4 separate regions of the Homo sapiens genome follow, and regions 2, 3 and 4 are each linked to region 1. The links are contacts of gene promoters, found by promoter capture Hi-C in human tissues and cell types (Jung and others, 2019). All regions are on one chromosome and are shown on one strand. Each heading gives the region's core, a stretch centred on a gene start or on the middle of the fragment in contact. The rest is flanking DNA. Distances are from core to core; before and after follow the strand shown.

Evidence for each region. Contacts are between HindIII fragments. The study calls those that stand out against the background at their distance.
Region 2: the fragment with the promoter of RTN3 here is called in contact with the fragment with the promoter of STX5 in region 1 in 1 of the 25 tissues and cell types used here (dorsolateral prefrontal cortex).
Region 3: a contact is called between a fragment that was not itself captured here and the fragment with the promoter of STX5 in region 1, in 1 of the 25 tissues and cell types used here (hippocampus).
Region 4: a contact is called between a fragment that was not itself captured here and the fragment with the promoter of STX5 in region 1, in 1 of the 25 tissues and cell types used here (hippocampus).

The regions. Positions count from the first base shown.
Region 1 is chr11:62,830,052-62,833,656 of GRCh38, reverse strand. It overlaps STX5 (syntaxin 5), which reads left to right and starts at 1,606. Exons shown (of 11, transcript NM_003164.5): 1 at 1,606-1,703; 2 at 2,395-2,638. The coding sequence starts at 2,414. It overlaps TEX54 (testis expressed 54), which reads left to right and starts at 816. Exons shown (of 1, transcript NM_001395459.1): 1 at 816-1,336. The coding sequence starts at 907. The coding sequence ends at 1,281. WDR74 (WD repeat domain 74) reads left to right here. Exons shown (of 11, transcript NM_001369450.1): 10 at 1-39; 11 at 526-746. The coding sequence ends at 705. It overlaps STX5-DT (STX5 divergent transcript), which reads right to left and starts at 1,423. Exons shown (of 2, transcript NR_135084.1): 1 at 1,340-1,423; 2 at 1-94. RefSeq lists enhancers at 1,096-1,145, 1,166-1,235, 1,606-1,695. The HindIII fragment of the contact is 7,048 bases long and covers 1-3,605 here.
Region 2 is chr11:63,679,758-63,683,362 of GRCh38, reverse strand. RTN3 (reticulon 3) reads right to left here and starts at 1,863. Exons shown (of 9, transcript NM_001265589.2): 1 at 1,585-1,863. The coding sequence starts at 1,726. RefSeq lists a silencer at 1,571-1,690. The HindIII fragment of the contact is 15,067 bases long and covers 1-3,605 here.
Region 3 is chr11:63,622,413-63,626,017 of GRCh38, reverse strand. It overlaps ATL3 (atlastin GTPase 3), which reads left to right. Exons shown (of 13, transcript NM_015459.5): 13 at 1-1,931. The region is part of intron 1 of LNCROPM (lncRNA regulator of PLAAT3 mediated phospholipid metabolism); the gene reads right to left. Among named protein-coding and RNA genes, the nearest start is that of LNCROPM, 7.9 kb to the right of the region's middle. The HindIII fragment of the contact is 4,329 bases long and covers 1-3,605 here.
Region 4 is chr11:63,484,441-63,488,045 of GRCh38, reverse strand. The region is part of intron 3 of PLAAT5 (phospholipase A and acyltransferase 5); the gene reads left to right. It also overlaps the pseudogene LOC124902822. Among named protein-coding and RNA genes, the nearest start is that of PLAAT5, 4.9 kb to the left of the region's middle. The HindIII fragment of the contact is 8,832 bases long and covers 1-3,605 here.

The DNA of each region.
Region 1 (3,605 bases), core at 357-2,856:
TTGAACTGCCTCCTCTTGTCAGGCAGGGACAACTGGGAGGTGAGCAGTTGGGCCCGGGAATGTGGGAGCCAAGGGCATAGATGTGAGGACCTCCCTATGGAGAGGAAAAGGAGGCAGCTGGAATGCAGACTTGGGACTATCTGTTTACCTGCCTGGTCACTTAATTTCTCTGAGAGGCATTAACAGTTAAAATCCTGAGAGGGTTATTGCCAACAGCATGGATGGGGTTGCTTTCTAGGAGCAGGGAATAAAGGTGGTGGTACCCAGAGGGATTCTTTCTCAGCCAGGGTCTCCTTCCCTGTGGGTTTGTCCCTGTGCCCCTGACTACTTTTCTTTTTTTTTTTTTTTTTTTTTTTTTTTAAACTTCTTTTTGTGGAGATGGGGTCTCCTTATGTTGCCCAGTCTGGTCGCTAAGTCCTGGGCTCAAGCAATCCTCCTGCCTTGGTCTCCCAAAGTGCTGAGATTACAGGTGGGAGCCACCGTGCCCGGCCCCCCTGACTCCTAAGCTTTCTTCCCACTCACCAGGATGAGCCCCAAGAGCCTCAAGAACCCAACAAGGTGCCCCTAGAAGACACAGAGACAGATGAACTTTGGGCATCCTTGGAGGCAGCTGCCAAGCGGAAGCTCTCGGGTTTGGAGCAGCCCCAAGGAGCTCTCCAAACGAGACGGAGAAAGAAGAAGCGGCCTGGGTCCACCAGCCCCTGACGCCCCTGTGCCCACTTTGTAAATAAACTGCTGAACACCCACCATGACCCTGAGCCTTTTGTGATGGGAGAAAGGAATGAGGGGTAGCTTGGGGTGGGGGCTGCCTGAGCTGGGGCGACGGGATATCTGATGTCACAAAAGCCGGGCCTGGAGGCAGGCAGGCTGGCGTGGGTGGCACGGAGTCCAGGGCCACGCGGGGCCATGGGCTGCTGCCAAGACAAGGACTTTGAGATGTCTGATGAGCAGTCCAAGGAGGAAGAGTCTGAGGACGGCAGGGAAGATGAGACCACAGACACACAAAGAGGGCCCAGGGAGTGTGAGAGGGGGCTTCCCGAGGGTAGGGGTGAGCTCAGAGGCCTCGTCGTCCCCTCAGGCGCCGAAGATATCGACTTGAACTCCCCGGACCATCCGAATCACAAGTCGAACGAAAGCCTTCTGATTACCGTGCTGTGGCGGCGACTATCCACGTTCGGTCGTCGGGGCTCCTCGCGGCCAAGCAAGAGGCAACCAGACCAGATTCGGAAGCAGGAGAGTCCGATCCGAGAAGGCAACCAGGAGGAGCCGGAGAAGGGATGACCCCAGACCTGCTCTCAGTCCGCCCCAACCTCCAGAGAATAAAATTTCTAACGTATACCTGCACGACCACTCTGGGGGACTGGGCGCGGACACCACCGGGCAGCTGGTTCTTTAAGGCTCCTTCCCGGAGGCGGGCCCAGCCCCCTGAGCGCCTGCTGTAGTACTCTGGGGCGGGGTCACGGTGGCGCCTTAGCCAATGGGAGGGCGGGATCGCTCTTGCGTTTGGGTGTGGGGCGTGTCTTTCGGGTCGCTGGGCTTGAAACGCGTGGGACCGCCCCCTCGTCACTGGGGGTGGGGTTACGTGTAGGTGACGTGGCCGCTTCCAGTCTTTGGTCGGGTTTCGGCGGCTTCAGTGCTCGGGGAGGAGGCAGTGACGGCCGGTGAGATTGGAAGTGGCGGCGGCGGCAGGCGGCAGAGGGGAGGTAAGATTCGCTTTAAGAGGGGATCTGGCCGCCGTGTCAGCTCTGGGGCAGTGGTTTTACGGGGGCGACGACTGGCGGGGGGAAGGGAATCAGGGGCGAGCGGGCAAGTCCTGCCGGCCCGGCTCCGGGTGAGCGAATTCCTTGCCGTCCAATCAGGAAAGCCTCTGTTGAGAGAGACGTCGGCCTTAGCTAATGAGTGGTTGAAGTCTTCCAGAAGGCGGACCTTGGGCGGGGGGTGGGACTTCCTGTTTCAAATAAACACCCAGAGGTTTTCCCCCTCCGCCCACCGAAGTGTGTCAGTCTTTGGAGGTCCGTCACTGGCCCTCCCGGAGGGGCCGAAGGAAACCGCGGAAACGAAAGGGCTGGGTTAGGGCCCGGGGCAGTTACACGGGCCGGGCCGGAGTCTCAGGACCACGGGGTTGGCTCTGGCCCTGTCTCTGCTTCAGGGTCCCCGGCCCGCGCTCTGGCCGCCAGAGCCAAGTTGGAAGAAGAGTCTGAAGCGGGTTCGACTTGGGACAGGGGAAAAGCGGGGCCCTTTCCGCTGCTGGTCCGCCCCAGGATTTGCGAGCGTCCTGGGCGCGAAAGTCCACGAGAAGTGCAGAAGGGGCTCGGGGATTTGTTGATTGGGGTGGGGCGGGGGAGTTTGGGTAAAGAAGTTGCCTGGGGAATGACACTCTCCCCTCCACAACAGTCCGAGGTTATGCGTCTCAATGATCCCGCGGAAACGCTACGGGTCTAAGAACACGGATCAGGGTGTCTACCTGGGTCTCTCAAAGACACAGGTCCTGTCCCCTGCAACTGCTGGCAGTAGCAGCAGCGACATCGCCCCTCTGCCCCCCCCAGTGACCCTCGTCCCTCCCCCTCCCGACACCATGTCCTGCCGGGATCGGACCCAGGAGTTTCTGTCTGCCTGCAAGTCGCTGCAGACCCGTCAGGTAAGGACCTGGAGTGGAAAAGGCGAGGAGTGAGCCTTACTCAAATCTAGGAAGGACTGTGCTCCACCACTGTTAACCGAAGTAATTTTGGGGGGTACCTGATGGAACTGATAGGCTTGGATGGGGCCTGTAGGGTCTGCTATAAGCAACAGAGAAGAGGTCGGCTGGCTAACTAGGGGCAAGGACTTAGACTTTTTTTTGTGAGGAATCCTTTGGAGGGCAGGATTGCTATTCTGGAGGGAGTACTTCAGAGAGTACTTGGCTGCAATATAATTGGTGTGAATAAGGAACAAGTTCTAGGAAGAGCCTTTAGCTGAGAAACATGCACCTTGAATTTTCCAATATACTTCTACCATAAGTTTGCTCTGTAACCATGAGAAAATTAGTTAATCTAGTTACATATTAGTTTTTATCTCTGTAAGATTAAGGACATTTTCTAGATAAGTAATTTGTTGTTTTTGTTTTGTTTTGAGATCTGTTTTTCAACTCTGTCAACAGGCTGGAGTGTAGTGGTGTGATGATAGCTCACTTGCAGTCTTGAACTCCTAGACTCAAGGGATCCTCTTTCCTCAGCCTCCTGAGCAGCTGGGACTACATGGATGCACCACTCAGCTAATTTTAAAATTTTTTCGTACAGGCAGTGTCTCACTATGTTGCCCAGGTTGGTCTGGACACCACACCTGGCCCTAGATCAGTAATTTGTATCAAAATCACTTAGGGTTGGATGTGGTGGCTCATACCTGTAATTCCAGCACTTTGGGAGGCCTAGGCCAGAGGATGACTTGAGGCCAGGAGTTAGAGACCAGCAGGAGCAACAAAGCAAGACCCTGTTTCTACAGGAAAAAAAAAAAAAAAAGCTGGACGTGGTGGCATGTGCCTGTAGTCCCAGCTACTTAGAAGGCTGAGCGAGGCCCAGTCTCTTCCTCTCTCTCTTTTTTTTTTTTTTTTTTTTTTGAGAAGGAATTTT
Region 2 (3,605 bases), core at 614-3,113, 850 kb before region 1:
AACAGTAAGCAATGACAAGTGATTAAAGCAAAAAGATCAAGTTGCTAAGTTATAAGGAAGTCGCTGTTCATCTGGACCTTAGCCCAGAACACAAAAATTTGGAGAAAAGGCTGGTGGTTTAAAGGAGACAGGGTTCTAAATTTGCTGCCTCATTCTTTTATCTGCAAAAGCTTCCTGATACTGCCTGTTTCTACTGAAATGGCCATAACCACACTGAAAAAATCCAACAGGGCTCCAAAGCTCTCAGACAGGTGAAAATTCACTGCTAGAAAAACACGTAGAGAATAATACATTTAAGGTTAAGATCAGAAATTTTTTCTTTAGAACCCAAGATTCTGCCAAAGGAGACAACGAAGCATTAAAAAAAAATGATCAAAATCCTTTAACATAACTAAATAGAGAGCAAAATTATCTCTACTCTCCCGAATTTACGGCCCTGCCTTTGACAAAAGGCATTTTTTTTCCCTTCAAAGACTCCGTTCCTTTGAGAACTACCACCTGCCCATGGTGGTTTTTTTTTCCCCCCTTAAGAAGGCATCTGCACTGCAGATTTCTGCATAAGGGGAGCTTGCCAGGCAGCTCTTACCAGCAGGCAGACGCGTATACAATGCAAACTAAAGGAGGTCTGCAGCTTCGTTCTTAGTCTTTCACAGAGATGGGAGAAGGGGACTCAACCAGCCCTTGCTTTGTCTGAATGTTCTCCCCCTCCCCCTTTCTGCAATAAACACCCCCCTTTGTTATACTTCGATCAATAGTAGCCCACAGAAAACATGAAATCAAAACATGTTGATAGCTTAGCATGACTCTATTTTCTAGAATATAAGCGACTGATTGCGTGTCCCCACCCCCACGCAGCGCCAGGGAAGAGCAGGCTGTTGCAGATGCAGCCACGGATCCATCTTGGACCATTAGCAGCTCCCTCCCAAATCTTCCCTGAGCTATTCTCATCACGCCTCCTTCTACCTCGGAGCCTCAGAAAAATCCGGCATTCATGGAGTCTAGCCGAAAACAGTAAAAACAAAACAAACAAACAAAAAAAACAGGCTACAATGCTTCCATTAAACTTCCTCATCCTTCCCATGGGCAGCCAAAAATATTTTGGAGGACTATCATGAATGCTTGATTATGTCAACACCTGTCTGCAAACCTGCAATGCAACCCTTTCACCACCATCCCCTCAAAAATAGTAACAAATTGTTTCTCCCACCACCCACCTGCCCGTATCCTTTCAATCTCTCTAATCCTCACTAAATCACCCAGGTTCACCATATGCATCGAGCAACTCTCCATTTTATCCCACGAGCTGGTATTTTTCCCCACCTGCCCAGTCTTGGCGTTAACGCCCACTGGACTATCTCCCCGCCCCCAACCTGTTTTCCTCACACCCCGCTATTTCCTCACCGCCTGCACAACCTTACGTTCCCCTTCCCCTTTGCCCATTTTCCAAACGCTCGTCCCCGGGGGGCTGAAGCCGTCAGTAGTCGAGGGTAATTCGTCCTCCTCCCGCCTCGCCTCCTAATCCCCCCAGCCCCCAGGCTCCCGCTCGCCCTCTTTCCCAGGGCGGGGGCTCCCCGCGCGCCTTACCCGCACAGGAGGAGCTGCAGCTCTTCGTCCCCAGGGCGGGGCAGGCTCCTGGGCTCCCGCCGCCGCCGGGCGCGGACGGCTCGGCTCCGAAGGACGACGAGGAGATGGAATGGGACTGAGTGGCCGCCGACGGCTCCGCCATGGCTACGCGAGCGAGGGTGGGAGAAGGGTGAAAAGAGATACGGGGCGGGAGAGAGGGAGGGGAAATAGAATAATCCGGCAACTGGCTCGCTCAAGTCCCTTTACTCCGCCTGCTCCGAGGACAGACTCCGACAGACTGACTGACTCAGCCGAGCGCAGCTAGAGGGCGGGAGCGCGAGCGCGCATGCGCACAAAGGGCCCCAAGCGGGTGCCAAAGCGCGCAGCGGCGCAGGGCGCAGGCGCAAGAACCGCTCCTCTGCGCTCTTGCAGGGAAGGAGGGGCAAAGCCGGCCTCACGCGGCGCCTCGCGCGCCGAGGGTTGGGGAGCGTCCCTTGGGGACCAGACGCAAAAGGCGTATCCAAGCCCCAATCCCCGCCCACGACTGCGGCTAATCGTGGAGCTGCGGGATAGTATTCCCTCCTGCCTCTTTATGTGAATGTTTTAGGGTCGGCAGATTATGTATTTTAACGGTAGAAATGTCTTTGGGCTTCCATTATGGAAACTCTCTTTCCCGTACATTCCAGAGCCTATATCTTTTGTTTGATGCATTCCCACCTGTGACTCCAATAAAAACTGAAAACCAGAGTGTAGAGTAGGCCCACTCTGCAAGGTGCTTTGTGAATCTCACTGGCTGTGTCGTAATATCTCCTCACCGAGAGGCAGAGATGGCACGGCCCCCCATTTGGTAGGTGGAGAAAGATGCTATACAGAATGAAAAACGATTACTCATTCCAATCACATTGCAATGCAGTCGCAGAACCTGCTTCGTATTCTTATCTCGTTACTGTTGCCAGAGAAGGGTCCACCTTGGGTCTTAAGGTTCTCTTTTCCTCCGAATAGACTGTCAGATAGAGACGACATATTTTAGAGAGGGAAAAAAAATGCTGAGCTGATGAAGAAGAGCCAGGAGATAAGAAAATGTTGGCTGTGATTATGGGGGATGATAAAATTAGATATTAAAAATTCAGAATAAGGCCGCAGTCAGTGGCAGAGGCCCGTAGTCTCTGCTACGGCAGAGAAGGGAGGATCACTTGAGCCCAGGAGTTGGAGTCCAGCCTGGGCCACACAGCGAGAACCTTCCTGCCTTAAAAAAAAAAAAAAAAGTAAAAAAAATCAGAATAAGGCACAAAATACACATAATTGAATTTTATTCATAGACTAAAAGAGGTCCTTAGCAGAACATGTATTTAAAACCAGATTTCTAGCCTATATTGGATTTTGTTCATTTTTTGCTTTTCCTGGGCTGGATTGCCAAATTCGAAGCCTTCTCCCTACATCTGGTCAAAATATTGGAAAGGTGCATAGTCTTTGTTAAAGGAGGACTGTTGGCTGGGCGCGGTGGCTCACACCTGTAATCCCAGCACTTTGGGAGGCCGAGGCAGGTGGATCATCTGATGTCAGGAGTTCAAGAACAGCCTGGCCAATGTGGTGAAACCCTGTCTCTACTAAAAATACAAAAATTAGCTGGGGGTAGTGGCGGGCGCCTGTAATCCCAACTACTCGGGAGGCTGAGGCAGGAGAATTGCTTGAACTCGGGAGGCAGAGGTTGCAGTGAGCAGAGATCTCACCATTGCACTCCAGCTTGGGTGAAAGAGCAAATCTCCGTCAAATAAAAAAAAAAAAAGGAGGACTGTATCCTGGAAATAATAAAAATCAAGGCTGTCGACTGTTACTGCTAAAGCAGCAATCGATGACCCAAAGTACAATTGCAGGATCAGCAGATCCTGTAAAGATGCAGCCTCATGAAGCGGGAGGTGGTCAGCCAAGCTGCCACTGAGGGGAAAGGCGATCTGACCAGTGGAAATCTTCTAGAACAAGCTGTGTACTACATCTGCCCTTGAGTTTTTAAGGTCAGGTAAAGCCCCAGGGGGTGGGAGGAT
Region 3 (3,605 bases), core at 681-3,180, 790 kb before region 1:
AATTGCCTGTGTTTCGCTTTATTCCTTTTTTTTTTTGAGACGGACTCTTGTACTGTCACCCAGGCTGAAGTGCAGTGGCGCAATCTTGGCTCACTACAACCTCCGCCTCCTGGGTTCAAGTGATTCTTTTGCCTCAGCCTCCCAAGTAGCAGGGATTACAGGCATGTGCCACCACACCCGGCTTATTTTTGTATTTTTAGTAGAGACAGGGCTTCGCCATGTTGACCAGGCTGGTCTCAACTCCTCTGGGAATCCGCCTGTCTTGGCCTTCCAGGGTGCTGGGATTACAGGCGTGAGCCACTGGAACCTGGCCTTGTTTTGCTTTATTTTTTCTCTTACATGAAGTAAAGCGCTTTGGTCAAACACACAAAAATACTGCCTTGTACTGGTGGTTGGTTTCATTAGTGGATCACACACAGTGTTCTACTTGGCTTGTAAAATGGTGCCTTGGATAGGGTGAGTTTGGATAAGTATGTATGTATGTATGAGTTATAGCAAAATTAAGTAGATTGAATCAAGTCCATGCAAAAGCAATAAAACAGTTTTAATTTTTTAATTTTTTAAAAATTAAAACTTTAATAAAACAGTTTTTAATTTTTTGCTAGGTTCTTTTAAAAAATGATGTAACTTACATGGAAGTCTTCACAGGACTTTTTTCTTTCCTGGAACTATTGAAATGTAATTTAGGATGATTTGATCTTCCATCTCAAGTTGTCAACATGGCTGTGTCATTCTGGCTTACATATGTTTTATTTAACAAAATTCTAGTCAAGGGATAAGGGCATAATGAAGACAAGCTTCAGTTATGAAAGTACAAACTATTTGTGTGATTAATTTTTAAAAATGACATTAAGAAGCCCATTGTAAAATAATATTTGCAGTCAAATGGTTTTTCTTGCTGTAAGTCCTGTTGTAGCTATGTTTAGGGTAGTGGTTCTCATCTACCTTGGAGTGCATAAGACTTACCTAGCAGGCTTGTTTAAAAAGTTCAGATTCCTAGCTTTGTACCCAGGGATTGCCTCAGGTGGTATGGGCTGTGGTCCTGGAGTCATCACTTTTATAAATAGTGGTTCAGAGACCACAGAGAGAGACTGCTTCATCGAATGGGAAGTACCAAGGAGAAAGTACAATTCAGTATTGTCTGGAGGCAAGTGGACACTTTGTACCTGAGGTTTAGAATAGGTGGTCTCTTGCCAGTACAATCCCCAGGCGTTTTCTGTGTTCAGAAGTAGTAAGAATGCCTTTAATTCAGAGGATTATCTAAGCTCTTTAAAGCTGTTTTTCTCCATTGTCATAGTGCCTTCTCTGAAAAATGAATGTACAGGTATCCTATTTTCTAATGTAATTAGGATTTTTTAAAAGCAATTTTTGATAGTTTTTCTTTTAAAAAGTAAAATTCAGCACTGTGACTTGAACCCCCAAATCTTTCACATACAGGTGAAACATTAAGCCACAAATAAAAATAATGAACAAGAAAGAAGACAAGATCCTAATTCCTGTCATTAGTGACCTAAGTACCCCATATCAGAAACTTTGCAAAACAGATCTAGGGACAGAAGGGCTTTGAAAGACATTTTTCTTTGGGGCAAATTTCGTGTGCCAGAACTACAGTTTAAATGTTTTTATGAGCAAGGGAAGGTAGCATTGATTCCCATAGCTTTCTAATTAGATACATGCTGTCATGGATGTAAGCCTTAAAGGAGTTAATACTAATCTTGTACATACACAAATTTTCCTCAGGTTTTTTTATTTTAAAAAATGATTTGTTAAAAGTACTGTCTGCTAGACCCTTGCCTTTGAGTGGCTTTGAAACTTAATATAGTTTTTAAAAAGTGCAATGGGATGAGATTATGCTATTAGTATATTAAAAGCATGTTTCTGTTTTACTCCAATTTGTAAGATCATTTAATGGAATAAAGATCACAACACCATGTTATCTGTGTTTTCTTTCTCTGTGTTTTTAATATGGGAGGTTCTGTGAAATAGTTTGGCTTGGCAAAGTGAATAAGACTTCTGACGGGATAGTGGCAATGTGGTTTGAGTTAGCTTTCTCTGTCCTACAAAACGACACTGAACAAGTGTCTTACTAGCATAGTCCTGGAGAAGGCTCTATTGTTGGCAGGGTTGCTTAAAAGTGAGCACAAGGGCCAGGTGTCGTGGCTCACTCCTGTAATCAGCACTTTGGGAGGCTGAGGTGGGAGAAATGCTTGAGCCCAGGAATTTGAGACCAGCTTGGGCAACATATGGAGACACTTTCCACCTCTGTCTCTACAAAATAAAAGTGCATAGTGGCACCCACCTGTAGTCCTAGCTACTCGGGAGGCTGAGGCAGGATGATCACTTGAGCCCAAGAGTTTTGAGACCAGCTTGGGCAACATATGGAGACACCTTCCACCCCGTCTCTGGAAAAAACAAAAAACAAACCCAGGCATGACGGTGCGCACCTGTAGTCCTAGCTGCTCTGGAGGCTGAGGCAGGATGATCACTTGAGCCCAGGAGTTGGAGGCAGCAGTGAATTACGGTCCCATCACTGTACTGCAGCCTGGGCAACAGCAAGACCCTGTCTCTCAAAAAAAATTACGCAAATTTCATTTACAGTAACATGGACTTGTGAAGACCTCTGAATTTGTAGCACTTTCATTTAGTTGCCCCATCTGGAGCCAGCTGATTAAACAGTTGCTCTTCAGGGGTGGGGGCAGGGAACGTAAATCTCTACTTAAAGCTTTCTCTTTCACTGATGGACACAGTGAGGAGATTGAATTGAACTTCTCAAATACGACAAATAGCTAGACATACCCCATTTAGCCCTACAGTAAAAAGATTTCTTCCCAAGTTGGAAACACTGGGTGGGATCAGCAGACTTTCTCTATCCAACCATCCATCCCTGGTTGTTACCATGTGTCAGGTGCTTTGCCAGGTGCTGCCCTTGAGTTCATCACAGTTTAGCAGGGAAGGGGCAAACTCAGAGGCTGATGATGTGAAGAGTATGGTGAAAACAAAGATTCAGGACTTGGGTGCCACCATCTACACTGATGTGTAGACGCTCTCAGCATAAACTGGGGAGAAGGAAGGACCAGGGTGACGAATGCGGTCCTGTATAGATGGGGAGCAGTCAAGCAAGCTGGCTTGTCTTTGGCGCATTGACATTCTTGCTTTTGATTATCATATATCACTTTGCAAAAGACAAGTCCAACTCTAATTAGCTTAAAGAAGGAAAAAATTGTTAACTGGGAAAAAGTTTCTTGTAATCGGACATATAGGGGTAAAGCTGACATCAGGCACTGGAGGAACTCAAATGTCAACAGGGCTCTTATTTCAGTGTTCAGTGACCTATTTATCTGCTGTTGCAGATAGGTTTCCTCCATGCCCCAGGGGAGGACAGGCACCAGTGGTTCCAGGTTTATGTCATCCCACTTTAATGTGCCCTGAGGAAACAGGCTTTTTTTTTTTTTGAGCTACCTATGAAAAAACACGTGTGTATATCTCCATTCCAGAGAAGGCTTCTGATTTGTTTGGCTTGAGTCATGCTCCTTCCATGGTCAACACTAGCCTGGCCTCTGAGGCATTATAACCAGCCAGACCTAGGGTGCAGGTGTCTGTAGTCA
Region 4 (3,605 bases), core at 944-3,443, 650 kb before region 1:
AGCCTCCCGAGTAGCTGGGACTAGAGGCACCTGCCACCATGCCCGGCTAATTTTTTGTATTTTTGGTAGAGACGGGGTTTCACTGTGTTAGCCAGGATGGTCTCGATCTCCCGACCTCATGATCCTCCCGCCTCGGCTTCCCAAAGTGTTGGGATTACAGGCATGAGCCACTGCAGCCAGCCCATATAACTATTTTGACTGACATCCATGTTGTTGCTTTTTATCAACAGTTCATTCCTTTTTATTACTGAGCAGTATTTCATTGTATGGATATACCACTCTTGTTTATGTGTTCACCTGTTGATTGAGCATTTGAGTTGTTACTAGTTTTTGACTATCACAAATCTGCTTGAACATTTATGTACGAGTCTTTGTGCAGACTGTATATTTTTTCCTCTTGGGTGAATATGTAGGAATGAAATGGCTAGGTCATGTGGTAGATGTATATTTAATTTACTGTTTTCCTTAACATTTTTTTTTTCTTTTTTGGGGCTTTCCAAGCCTGCCAGACAAATTCTAAAAGAGCTCTAACCTTAACTTACTGTTTTCCACAGTGGTTGTATCATTTTACATTCCTACCAGCAGTTTATAAGAGTTCCAGTTCATCAGCATTTGGCATGGTCAAAATCTTCTAAATTTTAGCTATTTTAATAGATGTGTAGGTATCTCATTGTGGTTTTCATTTGCATTTTCCTAATGACTAATAATGTTGAACGTCTTTTCATGCGTATATTTGCCATCCATATATATAATCTTTGGTGAAGTGTTCAAATCTTTTGCCCATTTTTTCCTATTGGTTTGTATGTTTTGAGAGTTCTTCAGAAGTTCTGTATACAAGTACGTCATCAGATATATACTTTATAATATTTTCTCTCCATCTGTGGCTTGTCTCTTCAGAACAGGTTCTTAAATTTTGATGAAGTCCAATGTGTCAGCTTTTCCTTTTATAAAACGGAAATGTAATGAAATACTGCTCAGTAATAAAAAGGAATGAACTGTTGATAAAAAGCAACAACACGGATGTCACTCAAAATAGTTATATGAAGGAGACCGCCAAAGAAGTGGACATACAACATGATTTCATATAAATCTCTATGAATAGTGCCTTTGGTGGTGTATCTAAGAGACCTTTGCCTAATCCAGTGTCACAAAGATTTTCTCCTGTTTTCTTCTAGGTATTTTATAGTTTTGTTTTTTACATTTACATATTTGATACATTTTTATCTGTATTTTTATTTCAATAGTTTTGGGGGAACAGGTGGTGTTTGGTTGCATGCAAAAGTTCCTTCGTGGTGATTTCTGAGATTTTAGTGCATCCATCACCTGAGCAGTGTACACTATACTCAATGTGTAGTCTTTTATCCCTCACCCCACTCCCACCCTTCCCTTCTGAGTCCCTAAAGTTGATTACATCATTCTTATGCCTTTGTGCCCTCATAGCTAGCCCCCACTTATAAGTGAGAGCATATGATTTTTTTGTTTTCCATTCCTGAGTTACTTCACTTAGAATAATGGTCTCCAGCTCTATCCAGGTTGCTGTGAATGTCATTGTTTCATTCCTTTTTACGGCTGAGTAGTATTCCGTGGTGTGTGTGTATGTGTGTGTGTGTGCATATATATATATACCACATTTTCTTTGTCCACTCATTGGTTGATGGTCATTTAGGCTGGTTCCATATTTTTGCAGTTGTGAATTGTGCTGCTATAAACATGCATGTGCAAGTGCCTTTTTCATACAATGACTTCTTTTCCTCTGGTTAGATACCCAGTAGTGGGATTGCTGGATCAAATTGTTGTGCTACTTCTAGTTCTTTAAGGAGTCTCCATGGTGTTTTCCATAGTGATTGTATCAGTTTACATCCCCACCAGCAGTGTAAAAGTGTTCCCTTTTCACCACATCTATGCCAACACATATTATTTTTTTTATTTTTAAGTTATGGCCATTTTGGAGGAGTAAGGTGGTATTATTGCATCGTGGTTTTGATTTGCATTTCTCTGATAATTAGTGACGTTGAGCAGTTTTTTAATATGTTTGTTGGCCATTTGTATATCTTCTTTTGAGAATTGCCTGTTCATGTCCTTTGCCCACTTTTTGATGGGATTGTTTTTTTCCTTGCTGATTTATTTGCTTGATTTCCTTGCAGATTTTGGATATTAGTCCTTTGTTGAATGCATAGTTTGTACAAATTCTCTCCCACTCTGTGGGTTGTCCGTTTACTCTGCTTATTGTTTCTTTTGCTGTGCAGAAGCTTTTTGGTTTAATTAGGTCCCATCTATTTATCTTTGTTTATGTTGCATTTGCTTTTGGGTTCTTGATCATGAACTCTTTTCCTAAGCCAATGTCTAGAAGGGTTTTTCTGATGTTATCTTCTAGAATTTTTATGGTTTCATATCTTAGATTTAAATCTTTGATGCATCTTGAGTTGATTTTTGTAGAAGGTGAGAGTTGAGGATCCAGCTTTATTCTTCTACATGTGGCTTGCCAATTATCCCAGCATTTTTTGTTGAATAGGATGTCCTTTTCTACTTTATGTTTTTGTTTGCTTTGTTGAAGACAGTTGGCTGTATTTTGTTTTATTTCTGGGTTCCCTATTCTGTTACATTGGTCTACATGCCTGTTTTTATACCAGTACCATGCTGTTTTGGTAACTATAGCCTTGCAGTATAGTTCAAAGTCAGGTAATGTGATGCCTCAAGATTTGTTCTTTTTGCTTAGTCTTGCTTTGGCTATGTGGGCTCTTTTTTGGTTCCATACTAATTTTAGGATTGTTTCATTCTAGTTCTGTGAATAGGTATTTTGATGGGAATTACACTAAATTTGTAGATTGCTTTTGGCAGTATGATCATTTTCACAATATTGATTCTACCCATCCATGAGCATGAGATGTGTTTCCATTTGTTTGTGTCATCTGTGATTTCTTTCAGCAGTGTTTTGTTTTCCTTGTAGAGATCTTTCATGTCTTTGGTTAGGTATATTCCTAAGTATTTTTTTTTTTTTACAGCTGTTTTAGAAGGGGTTGAGTTCTTGATTTGATTCTCAGCTTGGTCATTGTTGGTGTACAGCAGGGCTACTGATTTGTGTACAATAATTTTGTATCCTGAAACTTTGCTAAATTGATTTACCAGTTCTAGGACTTTTTGGATTAGGCTTTAGGGTTTTCCAGGTCTATGATCATATCAGCAAACAGCAACAGTTTGACTTCCTTTTTACTGATTTGGATGCCCTTTATTTCTTTCTCTTGTCTGATTGCTCTGGCTAGGACTTCTAGCACTATGTCGAATAAATGTGGTGAAAGTGGGCATCCTCGTCTTTTTCCAGTTATCTGGGGGAATGCTTTCAACTTTTCCCCAATCACTATAATGTTGGCTGTGGGTTTGTCGTAGATGGCTTTTATTGCCTTGAGGTTTGTCCCTTTTATGCTGATTTTGTTGAGGTTTTTAATCATAAAGGGATGCTGGATCTTGTCAAATGCTATTTCTGTGTCTATTGAGATAATCATGTGATTTTTGTTTTTAATTCTGTTTATGTGATATATCACATTTATTGACTTGCATATATTAAACCATCCCTGCATCCCTGCTATAAAACCCACTTGATCATGGTG